Linked DNA regions of Homo sapiens: region 1 is linked to region 2. The links are contacts of gene promoters, found by promoter capture Hi-C in human tissues and cell types (Jung and others, 2019). All regions are on one chromosome and are shown on one strand. The core of a region is centred on a gene start or on the middle of the fragment in contact, and the rest is flanking DNA. Distances in the headings are between cores, read along the strand shown. Region 1 overlaps LINC03039 (long intergenic non-protein coding RNA 3039). Region 2 holds the start of SIK1 (salt inducible kinase 1).

Region 1 (5,983 bases), core at 1,193-3,692, 38 kb after region 2:
GAGACGGGTTTATTTATTCCAGGGAACTGGCTCATGTGATTACAGAAGCTGAGATGTCCTGAGACCTGCCACCTGGAGACGGAGGAGGGCCTATGTCACCATCTGAGTCTGAAGGCCTGAGACCCAGGAGAGCTGATGATGCAGCCGAGTTCAAATCTGAAGGCTGGACAAGATCCCATCAGCTTGAAGACCTTCAGGCAGAGAAAGTGGGCTCTCCCTCCCTCAGCCTTTTGTTCTGCTCAGGCCTTCAAGGGATTGGAGGATGCCCGCCCACGCAGGGGACAGCCATGGACTTTCCTCAGTCCTTCAACTCAAATGCTGATCTCACCCAGAGACAGCTCACAGATACCCTAGAGAACATGCGGCCAAATATCTCGCCACCTCTTCCCAGTCAAGGTGACACATGAAATTGGCCATCACAGCGTCCTGGTATCATTGTATCAGAGTTGGCCTGTGTGACAGTGAGTGATGTCCAAGCCTAGTTCACAAATGGCTTTGTGGATCCCACCTTGCTCTCCCTGGGGTCACTCTGGGGGAAGACAGTCGCCATGTTAGGAGAATGCTCAAGCAGCCTTGTGGAGAAGCCTATGAGGCCAGGGACTGAGGCCTCCCGCCAATAGCCTGTGAGGAGCTGCAGCCTCCACCAATGGCCTTGTGAGGACTGGAGGCCTCTCCCCAGCAGCCATGTGAGCAAGCTTCCTTGGAAACGGATCCCCCAGCCCAGTCGCACGTGCAGGTGTTGCCGTCCTGGCGGCAACCTCGTGCCAGATCCTGAGCCACAGCCACCCCACTGGGCTTCTTCCAAATCCTGGAGCCTCTGAAACTGTAAGATAATGAAGGTTTGTTGTTTTACACTGCTCAGTTTTGGGGTAATTTGCTACATGGAAATAGAAAACACACACAGTCTATATCTGTATGTGTATATGTTTTATATATTCTATATGATATATTTTTAAATAGGGTTTTCTTCCCAGGATGGGATCTTACTGAACATTCTTAAAAACCAATTAATTTTAGACATGCCCAGCTGTCCCACATTTCCATAGAGGAAGGGCAGGAGAATTCTCTAAATATTCTGTGTGTTTTCCTTCAGGCCCAGCGTCCCTCGAGGTGAGGTTGGGACCATGTGACCAGCCATGGCCAATGGGCTCTGAGCAGAAGGACCATGAGTCGGCTTGCCAACACACTCAGAGGTTGCATGCCTCCTCCACAGGCCCCTCTCTGCCGTGGGACCCTGGAGGCATGTCTGTGAGGGCGGCACTAGGAGATGGGGAACCCGGCCCCCCAGTGACCCTGGAGGAGGGCCCTGACAATCCGTGTGCTGCTTGCCCTAGAGAGAAATACGCTGTAGCGCGATTAAGCTGTGAGATTTTGGAGGTTTGCTTGTTACTGCGTCACGTCACGGCCCAGCCTCTCCTGACTCGGTGCAGCAGATAACAATGGCAGTCAAAGCACCACGTTATCTGTTCTGAAGAAAGTGGAACTTTCTTCTGAAAATGCAGGTGGCCTCAGACACTCCGGGAGGCGTTCTCAATCCATTGCAACACTTTGTGGGGGAAATTGCCTGAGTCCCCCAGCTCGTCCATCTCTGCACCGGAGACTGTACGGGGTGAAGGAGGGTGTCTTAGGAAGCCACTGAGGCATCGCCAGAGCCCGCACGGGCAGCGTCAGGCACCCCAGGAGGTCATTTCACATGTTCTACAAGGACATGTTTTCAGCTCTCCAGTTTTCTAGTGGAGGAAACCAAACCTCCCAGGTGGTCAACACAGGCGTTTGCCCCACATGCCACCACCAGGTAGCCACGGGTCTCATGGGTGACTGGGAATGGGAGGGGAAGGAAGAAGCTCTTCTTTTGTGGAATCTGATCACAGGGAACCCTCTCCCGCCCGGGGCTCAGAATCTGATCACAGGGAACCCTTTCCCGCCTGGGGCTCAGAATCTGATCACAGGGAACGCTCTCCCGCCCGAGGCTCAGAATCTGATCACAGGGAACCCTCTCCCACCTGGAGCTCAAGATGGTTTCCTGCAGACCTGGAATTAAACGTCAGGCTCCTGCCTGAGTCGCCGGGACCCCCAGCCTGGCTGACCTCTTCTTGCTCTGCTGAGCTCTCTGCATGCCCCCAAGGCCCTCTCCGCCTCTGGCTCAGCCCTTAGGAAGCCCTGGCAGAGAAGCCCAGGATGGGAGAGGCAAAATGGGGAGGATGAGGTTTGCATTACCTGTAATCCTGGCCAGGCCACAGTACCTAAGTGCTCAAACATGAGCCCAGGTGTAGCTGGGAAGGTGTCCTGCAGAGGAGCTCAATATCCACAATCAGATGATCTGAAGGAGATTAGCCTCGATTTTTCTGGGAGGGACTCATCCCTTCAAAGGAAGCCCTTAAGAGTGAAAACCGAGGTTTCACTGAGAACACCTGCCTCAAGACGGTGACGTGCCCTACTGCGTGTCTCCTGCCTGCCGCCTGCCCTGCAGGTTTTGAACCCCCATGATTGCGGGATCCAATGCCTTAAAATAAATCTCTAAACATATATCCGTCTAGGTAAACCGCCTGTTGTCTAAACATATATCCGTGTATGTAAACCGCCTGTTGTCTAAACATATATCCGTGTATGTAAACCGCCTGTTGTCTAAACATATATCCGTGTATGTAAACCGCCTGTTGTCTAAACATATATCCGTGTATGTAAACCGCCTGTTGTCTAAACATATATCCGTGTATGTAAACCGCCTGTTGTCTAAACATATATCCGTGTATGTAAACCGCCTGTTGTTGTCTAAACATATATCCGTGTATGTAAACCGCCTGTTCTCTAAACGTATATCCGTGTATGTAAACCGCCTGTTGTCTAAACGTATATCCGTGTATGTAAACCGCCTGTTCTCTAAACGTATATCCGTGTATGTAAACCGCCTGTTCTCTAAACGTATATCCGTGTATGTAAACCGCCTGTTCTCTAAACATATATCCGTGTATGTAAACTGCCTGTTGTCTAAACGTATATCCGTGTATGTAAACCGTCTGTTCTCTAAACATATATATGTGTATGTAAACCGCCTATTGTCTAAATATATATACGTGTATATGAACCGCCTATTGTTTTTTTCATGTCAGGAAAGCCGGGACAAATCCCCCTGGTTCTGTTTCTCGGAAGAACGTTGCCTGTTAAGGGGGCGTTTCCACTGCCCTCCAAGGGCTTGGGACTCACTGTGTCCTTTGTGTGTGTCAGGGGTGGGGAGCGGCTCCTGTCCAGGCCTTCTTACCGACAGCTACAAGGCTTGGGTCGGCACTGGCTCCTGCCCTCCCTCTCCAGGCCTTGGGAAGACGCGGTTCTCCTGCCCGGGCTGCCCCTTGAGCACCCATCCCTCCTGGTTTCCCAAGTCTGTCCTGTTCTTGTAATTCCTTTATTAAATGCTCCTTAAGTGATTCAATTTGCATGTAACATCTATTTCCTGCCAGGCCCCTGCCTCCTGCCTGGCACTCCCCGTTCACCCCACAGCCAACTGCCATCGGGATGTGCCCAAGCCTCGCAGCAAGAGAAATCTGGAGGCCACGTTCACCGCCCCTCAGACGCAACCCCAGGGCGTCAGCAACTGGCGAGGCCTTTTAATCAAGCAAACTCAGTCCTGCACTGCACACGGCTTTTTGCTTCCTTCGTAATGGCTAGCATCCATAAGTAATCATCCAAAAGTGCAGTGTGTGAGAAAATCAGAACTGCACGGTCTACTGGGCATTCACCCCAGGTAGCGAGCTCTTAGGCTCCCGGGGGGCAAGGACAGGGAGGAGGAAGGGAGGGAGGGAGGGAGGAAGGGAGGGAAGGAGGAAGGGAGGGAGCAGCCTCCCTTGGCGCTGGGGACGGTGGCTCCATTCTCATGAGGCAGAGAGCTCTGGCTTGGGAAATTCCTGGGCTGGAGGGATTTCCTCTCCTCATCCTTGGAGGTCGTGCTTCCTCCAGAGGAATTGTGGAGCCCCTTCCTGGCTCTTCCCAGCAGGGATCCCCCTTCCCAGTGTCTCCTAGCATCCCCTGAACTGGAGAGCCTCCCCGCTACCTGGGCTGGTCGCTGTGGAAACCGTCTCACAGCTGAGGGGCTGGCTCTGCTGGAAGTGGGAAGCTGGCAGCATTTCCCTGGAGCCCGGCCCAGGGGTTTGGGGTGGGCTGAGCACTCGCCCCCAGGGCTGTGCCACACAGAGGCGGGCCTTGACTTGTTTAGAAGTTTGACATTTCGTTCATCATGAATTGTGCATTAATTTTAATTTTTAAAAGTATTACACTAAAATGTTATTGATCTTGATTTTTTTTTAGCACCCTCCCACTTAAGTTTTGCCCCAAACCAAGTGTCTGGTCCTTCCGGCTTTTTGGGACAAAGCTAGGAGCCGGGTGGAGAGAGGAGCTGGGCTTTGGGGCAGGCAGGCCTGGGCGAGCCCTGGCCAGCCCCGTGCCCCTGGGCAGTGTCCTTCGCTTCCCTGAGCCTCCTGTCCCTGACGCCGGGCAGGGCGTGGGAGGTGTGTGATGCAGTGGGGACCACGTGGCACTCGCCAGCCTCTGTGGTCACTGGAACAAGGCCGTGTCCAGAGGAGACCGACTCCCCATGAGGGCAGGCGTCAGGGCTTTCGCTCCTCACTCTGACCCTGTGTCGGTGCTTGGTGGCCCCACAGAAGCCCAGTAAACGCCAGTCACCAGGAAGGGCCCCACCCACCCATCCCAGACCCCGGAGGTCCACGGAGCAGCAGGAGGGCTGGGCAGTCCTAGCGGCACCAACGGGGCATCACAGCTCTTGTCGTCTTAGGGCCGCCGCTCTGGGCAATGTCCGGGAGGTGCCTGGGGATGGCCAAGGGCTTCTGAAGCAGGAGAGACCTGAAGGCTGGGCTGGGGCTGCAGAAGTGGCCACAGGCCAATGTCATCCCAGAAGGCCCTCCATGGGGGCACTCCTGGGGCCCGCCCAGCAGCCAGGCCCCGGGCCGAGATGCCCGGATCAGGAAAGCCCTGTGGGGTTGGAGACTTCCTCTCTGGCTCTCAGCAACACAGGAGCACGCTGTGCCCACCCACCCCAGGTGTTGGGGTCCCCAAAACCACATTTTGGGGCAACCACATTTTGGTTCCCCATGTGTTTGGAACTTGTCTGAGCATCACCTGCCTGATCCTAGATGTGCAGGACACTTTGTGCCCAGTCTCTGCAGGGTCCCCCAAACGTTGACCCTCAGGGACTTGTTCTTCCCATTTTATAAACTAAGGCAGAGCGGCTGCTCCTCACTTCTCTGCCAGGGCCAAGGGAAGGGCTTTGTCTCATCACCTACCCTGGGACAGGGGTGGTGACTGGTCGGTGACCAGGAGGCCCTGCGTGGTTTGGTGACTTGCCCACAGTCACCCATTGCAGGCCCGTGTGGAGTCCACCTCTGGCCTCTGCCCTTTGCTACATGAGATCTGTCTGTGGCAGACTCTTCTGGAAACTTGAGCCAGCGGGCCGGAGGCTGCACCCTAAACCCCCGGCTGTGCCCCTGGCAGGCAGGCGGGAGACAGCAGCAACCAGCCCATGGGCTGTGGGCATCCTCCAGCCGGTGTCCCATCTGCCCTGCAAGCAGTGCCTGGGCTCAGAGCAGCCCACAGGACACTGTCCAAGATGCGCAGACCCCGAGGGCCAGAGGGACCGGCTCTGCAGGAATCCCACCTCCTGGGCCCACTCCGCACAGAGTGTTCTGCAGGGCCTGGGAGAACCAGGCACCTGGCCAGGACAGCCTGTGGGTGGGCAGCCGTGTGCACAGATACACACACACGTCAGGGACAGACACACACACACCAGGGACACACACCACACACACCAGGGACGCACACCACACACACCAGGGACACCCACACACACCACGGACGCACACCACACACACCAGGGACACCCACACACACCAGGGACGCACACCACACACACCAGGGACCCCTGCACACACCAGGGACACACACACACACACCGGGGATGCACACCACACACACACCA
Region 2 (5,495 bases), core at 2,996-5,495:
CTCACCCTCGCGTTGCACCGTCTCACCTCTCTCTGGGGACCTGTCCCTTCCCACAGTGAACTTCGAAGCATGTCTGTCTGTCACCATGTTCTGGCACAGTCTGGCCATGCTCACCTGTGTCCACCCGCTGACTCATTGCAGCTGGCACACTTGTTGCAAATGGCAGAAACTCACATTATTTTGCATAAGTAAATAGTAACCAAAAAAAAAAAAGATGGTTTACCATGCTCTACACTAGCAGCCAGCATGTCACCTGGAAACACCGAGACCTGAGCTGACACTCAGACGTCTCCATCTCCCGGGAGCCACGCTCCGTGTGGCCCTGGCAGAGTGCCCAGGATAAAGAGCACGGCCAGCACCTGCTCCAGTCCTGGTCCCCAGTGTCTGCACAAAGCTGCAGCATCCCAGAGGCTTCTGCTCTGCCTCTGGGGACCTTTGCTCCGTTTGCGGATGCGGTTTCCTTCTTCCTACAGAGAGGCAGGTGGTTTACTCCAGCGCTGCCTGCTCAGCACAGGGTGACCTCCTGCCAGGCTGTCCATGGTGCTCTTCCTAAGTGAGCACTCCCCCCCGGGGGAACCCCTGGCTCTGTTTGGGGCCTGGCTGACTCTCGCTGGGGCTGGCCCCTTCCTGCACCCCCCTCCCCCGCCGTCCGACCTCAGCATATGGCTCAGGGACACAGACACCCAAAGGCCTCTTGGGTCCTCAGCCTTGATATCGGCCACAGCCCTGCTTAAATGTCAAGAAAACGCATTGGCCACATGAATAATTCCTCACTAACGGCAGCGACAGAAACCGGAACCAGAAACCCTAGAGGGCTGGAGCGGGGAGGGCCGACTGGCCCGTGAACAGGCACGTTTCTGCTGCTTTGCCGGCCTTCGTGGTCCATTTAAGCAGCCCGTGGAAGGCCTAGCCTGAAAGTGGGTGCTGTCTGAGATGGGGAGGGGCCCTGGGCCCGGTAGGATCCACACAACTGTGGCAGCCACGGAACCACAGGGAGCCAAGTGTAGGAGGTGAAGGAAGCAATGCCCTGGGGGCGGACGCTGGGACTGGGCAGTCTCTGGTTTGACCTGTTCGCGGGGGATTCTTGACTTAACCTGTGGACAACTGGGCCATTCCCTGAGGGTGGAGGGGGCTGGGGGCTTTTCTCCTACCTGCCCTCTTCCCAGGCCAGGGCCGTGGCTTCCTGACCTAGTGCACACATGTCTGTCTGTCAAGCTCTCCAGATACAATGGGGCAAAATGACCAACGTGGCCCCCGGGTCCCTGAGAAGGATGCCGCTGCAGTGGTTAATCTGATTTTCTGGCACCTAAAGCCGCTAGGCTGAAGCCTAAACAAACCAAAACAAAATTTAAAAAGTACAAAACCACCTGAAGCAAAGCCAGGAAGACAGGGAAGGGCCTTAGGCGTCGAAGATGGGAGGGTAGGGTCGGGAAGAGGAACTCGTCTGACTCCTGGCTGCACTGGGAGATTCCTTCCTCACAGAGGGCGGCACTGGGGCCAGCTGGGCACCCATCCCTTTGCAAAAATGCTGCCCCACGCTCCATTCTCTGTGTTTATCAATTGATTTTGAGAGTTTTGTGACATGCCAGTGGCCAGCGTTACAACTATGAATAATAAATGGACCCATTTCCTGTTGGGGTTTCCAGTCTTAAGGCCTAAAAAACAAGATGAACTCCAGAAACACGGCAATCATAAGACAAGCTGAAGAAAGTCCATGTGGAAAGGAAAACTGACTTGCCGTTTTCCACAAATCTGTAATAATATGCAAACCATAATAATAAAGTACCGTTCCTGCAGACTTTGGGAGCATTCCTTCCATTATGTTCAGTGAGGAGCTTCTCCAATCATTTGCTTGTACCATCCTTACACTCACACCATGTGTTTTATTTTTCCTCGTGTTAAAGGCACGGAAGACCAGAAAACAGAAAAGAAATCAAAGCTTCTGAGAGGAAATACAGCCTCGGGGGGTCAAGGACACAAACAACAACAAAAGACATTGGGTAACAGAGACCAGGTTGAAGCACAGACTTAGTTATGAGGGTGCCAGGGGTTCCCCCAGTGGGGAGACGGGACAGCCGTTCCAAGCTTGGCCTTTTCCTCTGTGCTTCCTGCCTTTCTCTGCAGAGCGAGCTCCTTGCCCACGGGCCCAGGGAAGGGAAAACAGGATGGCCATGGTTGGCACAGGGCTGTTCTGGGTTTTGGAAGCTCAGGGCTGGGTCAGGGTGAAAGGTCAAGTGCACCTGAGTTTGGGGACCTGTTCTGCGGAGGCAGTTTTGGCTGCAGTTTTTATTTGGTGCTGATGCAATGTTTCCAAACAGCCAGCCAGGTGTTTGCAAATACCTAAGACCTTTTGGAAGACTCTGGCTAGGGTGGGAGGGGTGGGGAAGCCTGCTTCCTGGATGCGGGGGGCAGTATTTCAAGTCACAGGCTGAGGGACTGAATGGTGAGTGTGATCAGGGGCCTGGTTTCTCCCCCACCCCGCCTTTTATCTTTGTTCTTTTTTGAGACAGGGCCTTGTTCTCTTGCTCAGGCTGGAGTGCAGTGGTGCAATGACAGCTCACTGCAGCCTCAACCTCCCAGGCTCACGCCATCCTCCCACCTCAGGCTCCCAAGTAGCCGGCCCCACAGGCGTGTGCCACCACACCTGGCTATTTTAAAAGTATTTTATAGAGGTGAGGTCTTGCTATGTTAACCAAGCCGGTCTCAAACTCCTGAGCTCAACTGATCCTCCTGCCTCAGCCTCCCAAAGCACTGGGATTACAGGCGGGAGACACGACGTCCAGCCTTGTTTTTGTTTAGTTCTCCTAGGAGCGGATTAACAGGGTGTTGGGACCTCCAAAAGGAAAAAAGGCAGTTGTACACTGTTCAGCTGAAAGGAACTAAAAATATTCCCCCGTATTCTTGGTATATAAACCTGGGACAAAGAAAAACACTCTGAACGATTAAGGAAAACTTTGGGACTCTTCATTTCCTTGAAAGCCTTTGAAAACCAACTGACTCCCAAACAACCCGTGTGTGTGTGTGTGTGTGTGTGTGTGTGTGTGTGTGTGTGGCGATTGGGAAATCTGTGGTCAGACCCTCGGGCGAATGAGGAGAAGCTCATCCTCGTTTCTCCGGGCCCTCCTCCCAGGCGTCCGTCCAGGCAGGAAAGCCTCCCGAGAAGGGTTCCAAGTTTTGTGCCAACTCCCCTGAATTCTCGTTCCCCCTTCTGTGAAGTAGTGTTATTTAACACAAGGAAAACTGACCCTAGGCTCGATCCAGAATCTAACTCCCAAATGGGTCCTCAGGCTTAAAAAATACCTTCGCCCACAGCCTCTGTCTCCCCTGAAGAAAACGTTTTCCGTTCGGATGAGGCATCGGCCACGGGCAAGCAAGTGGTCCCGCGCCCCCGTCCCCTACCCAGGCGGCCGGCCTGGCTCCGTCACCGCCCGCAGCGTCCGCCCGGGGCCCGCGCGGGAAGAGGGTCCCAGCCCCACATGCTGCGGGGGCAGCCCCGGGACGCGCAGACGCCAGCGCCGCTGAGGGCCGGGGCCGGGACCGGCCGCGCGGCGGGGGCTTCCAGAGCGGCCGGTCACGCTTCCTTAGGTTTCAAGTTTCTAACTTGCTGAACATTTCAGATTTTAACAGCAAAAGCGGCTGACGTCCCCGCGGGCAAGCGGCCTCTCGGGGTCTGCAGCGCCCCAGGGCATCCGCGCCGCCAGCCCCACGCGCGAGCCCGCGAGGCCCCCGGGCCCCCGCACGTCCCGAGGCTCTGAGTCTGGACGAACGCAGGCCGCGTGGAGGGGCCGGCGACCCCTGCCCGAGAGCCGTCCCCTCCTGGAGGGAGCGAGCACAAGGCGCCCGCGGGACCCGGCCCGAGTGCCCGAGCGTGGAGGGGCGGGCGCGCCCTCGGCGGTGGGGCCGCCCGCAGTGCCCCCAGCGCCCGGGAGGGGGCGCCCGGCGGAGCGCAGGCGGGCGGGCCTCGGGCGGCGGGCGCCCCTGACGTCACCGGCCCGCGGTCGCCAGGGCAACGGCCTCATCCCGCGCGCGTCAGAGCCGCCAGTCTCTTGGCAACCGCCCGATCTCCCGCTCTCCCTCCGCCCGGCGCTCGGCCGCGCGTCGCTCTGGCGTCAAAGCGACGTCAATGGGCGGCCCCCGCCCGGGCGGCGGGGGCGGGGCAGGGGGCGGGGACTACGGGGGGCGGGCCGGGGCGGGCCGGGGCGGGGCCGGGCGCCGCGTGCGGCGGAGCGCGGCGGCTCCGGGCTGACATGCGGCGCGGCCCCGGAGGCAGCAGCAGCGGCGGCGGCAGCCGGAGCAGTAGGCACCCGAGCAGCGCCAGCGGCCGAGCGGGCGGCTTCCTGGCCTGGGCGCTCCGGTGGCGGCGGAGGTGAGGCGGCGGCAGCGGCGGCAGCGGCGGCAGCGGCGGGCTCCGGGCGGGCGGAGGTGGCCGCCGTGGGGGCTCCGCGCGGGCGCCGGGCCGGGGCTCGGGGTTGCAGCCACCGCGCAGGGTCCCTGGCCTTGCGCGCGCGGGGTTCGCGGGCGGGGTTGGCGGCCTGGCCGCCCTCGGGCTCCCCTTTGTTGGGGGGCCGGGGTAGGAGTGAGTCCGCGGGGCTCAGGGGCTGGGGAGCCGGGGGTCAGGTTGGAGCCGACCGCGGGCGGAGATACCGGGTGTGGGGGGCGGGTCCGCGATCCCCGAGGTGCCTGGGATGTCGGGGGTGGGGACCGGACGGATCGCGGGCGGCGGGGGCAGGGTGTGGGAGCGGGGCAGGGGACGGTCCTGGGATCCGGATCGAGCCGACCTCGGGTGGCAGGGCCAGGTGTGGGAGCGGGTCCGCGCCCAGAGGTGCTAAAGGGGTCGAGGGTGGGGACGGAACCGACAGCGGGCGGCGGGAGGCGAGTGTGGAATCCCGGCTCAGGGGGTCCCGGGATCGGGACGGAACCGGACTCGGGCGGCAGGGGCCTCTATGAGAGCGGGTCCGTGCGCCCCGCGGGGCTCAAGAGGGTCGGGGGTCCGGGTGGAGCGGGCGGCGGGGGCGGGTCCACACCTCCCACGGGGCTGGAGGGGCCCGTGGATAGAGTGGGGGCGACAGGCGTGGGAGCAGGTCCCTGCGTCCCGTGGGGACTGGGGGCTCCGCGGGCACGGATGGAGCCGACCGCGGGCGGCGGGGGCGCTGGTGGGCTCTGAGCTCTGTGCGGCCCCGCAGGTGCGCGCGGAGCCATGGTTATCATGTCGGAGTTCAGCGCGGACCCCGCGGGCCAGGGTCAGGGCCAGCAGAAGCCCCTCCGGGTGGGTTTTTACGACATCGAGCGGACCCTGGGCAAAGGCAACTTCGCGGTGGTGAAGCTGGCGCGGCATCGAGTCACCAAAACGCAGGTGCGTGGGGGCGGTGGGACCCAGCCGGCGGGGCCTCCCCACTGGACCCGGGGCGACCCGACCTTTGGCGGGTGGACCCCATGCAGATTCACTGCTCCAGGCTTGATTGTCGTGGTGGGTAAATAGTAACCGTTTTTAGTTC

What was found. Contacts are between HindIII fragments. The study calls those that stand out against the background at their distance.
Region 1: a contact is called between a fragment that was not itself captured here and the fragment with the promoter of SIK1 in region 2, in 3 of the 25 tissues and cell types used here (bladder, dorsolateral prefrontal cortex and spleen).

What each region holds. Positions count from the first base shown.
Region 1 is chr21:43,385,701-43,391,683 of GRCh38, reverse strand. LINC03039 (long intergenic non-protein coding RNA 3039) reads left to right here. Exons shown (of 3, transcript NR_176219.1): 2 at 1-839; 3 at 1,094-3,085. Among named protein-coding and RNA genes, the nearest start is that of LINC03039, 11 kb to the left of the region's middle. RefSeq lists a silencer at 349-549 and an enhancer at 5,564-5,983. The HindIII fragment of the contact is 6,673 bases long and covers 1-5,778 here.
Region 2 is chr21:43,425,881-43,431,375 of GRCh38, reverse strand. It overlaps SIK1 (salt inducible kinase 1), which reads left to right and starts at 4,245. Exons shown (of 14, transcript NM_173354.5): 1 at 4,245-4,366; 2 at 5,184-5,353. The coding sequence starts at 5,198. It overlaps LOC124905029 (a long non-coding RNA gene), which reads right to left and starts at 1,792. Exons shown (of 3, transcript XR_007067891.1): 1 at 1-1,792. RefSeq lists a silencer at 353-647. The HindIII fragment of the contact is 13,239 bases long and covers 1-5,495 here.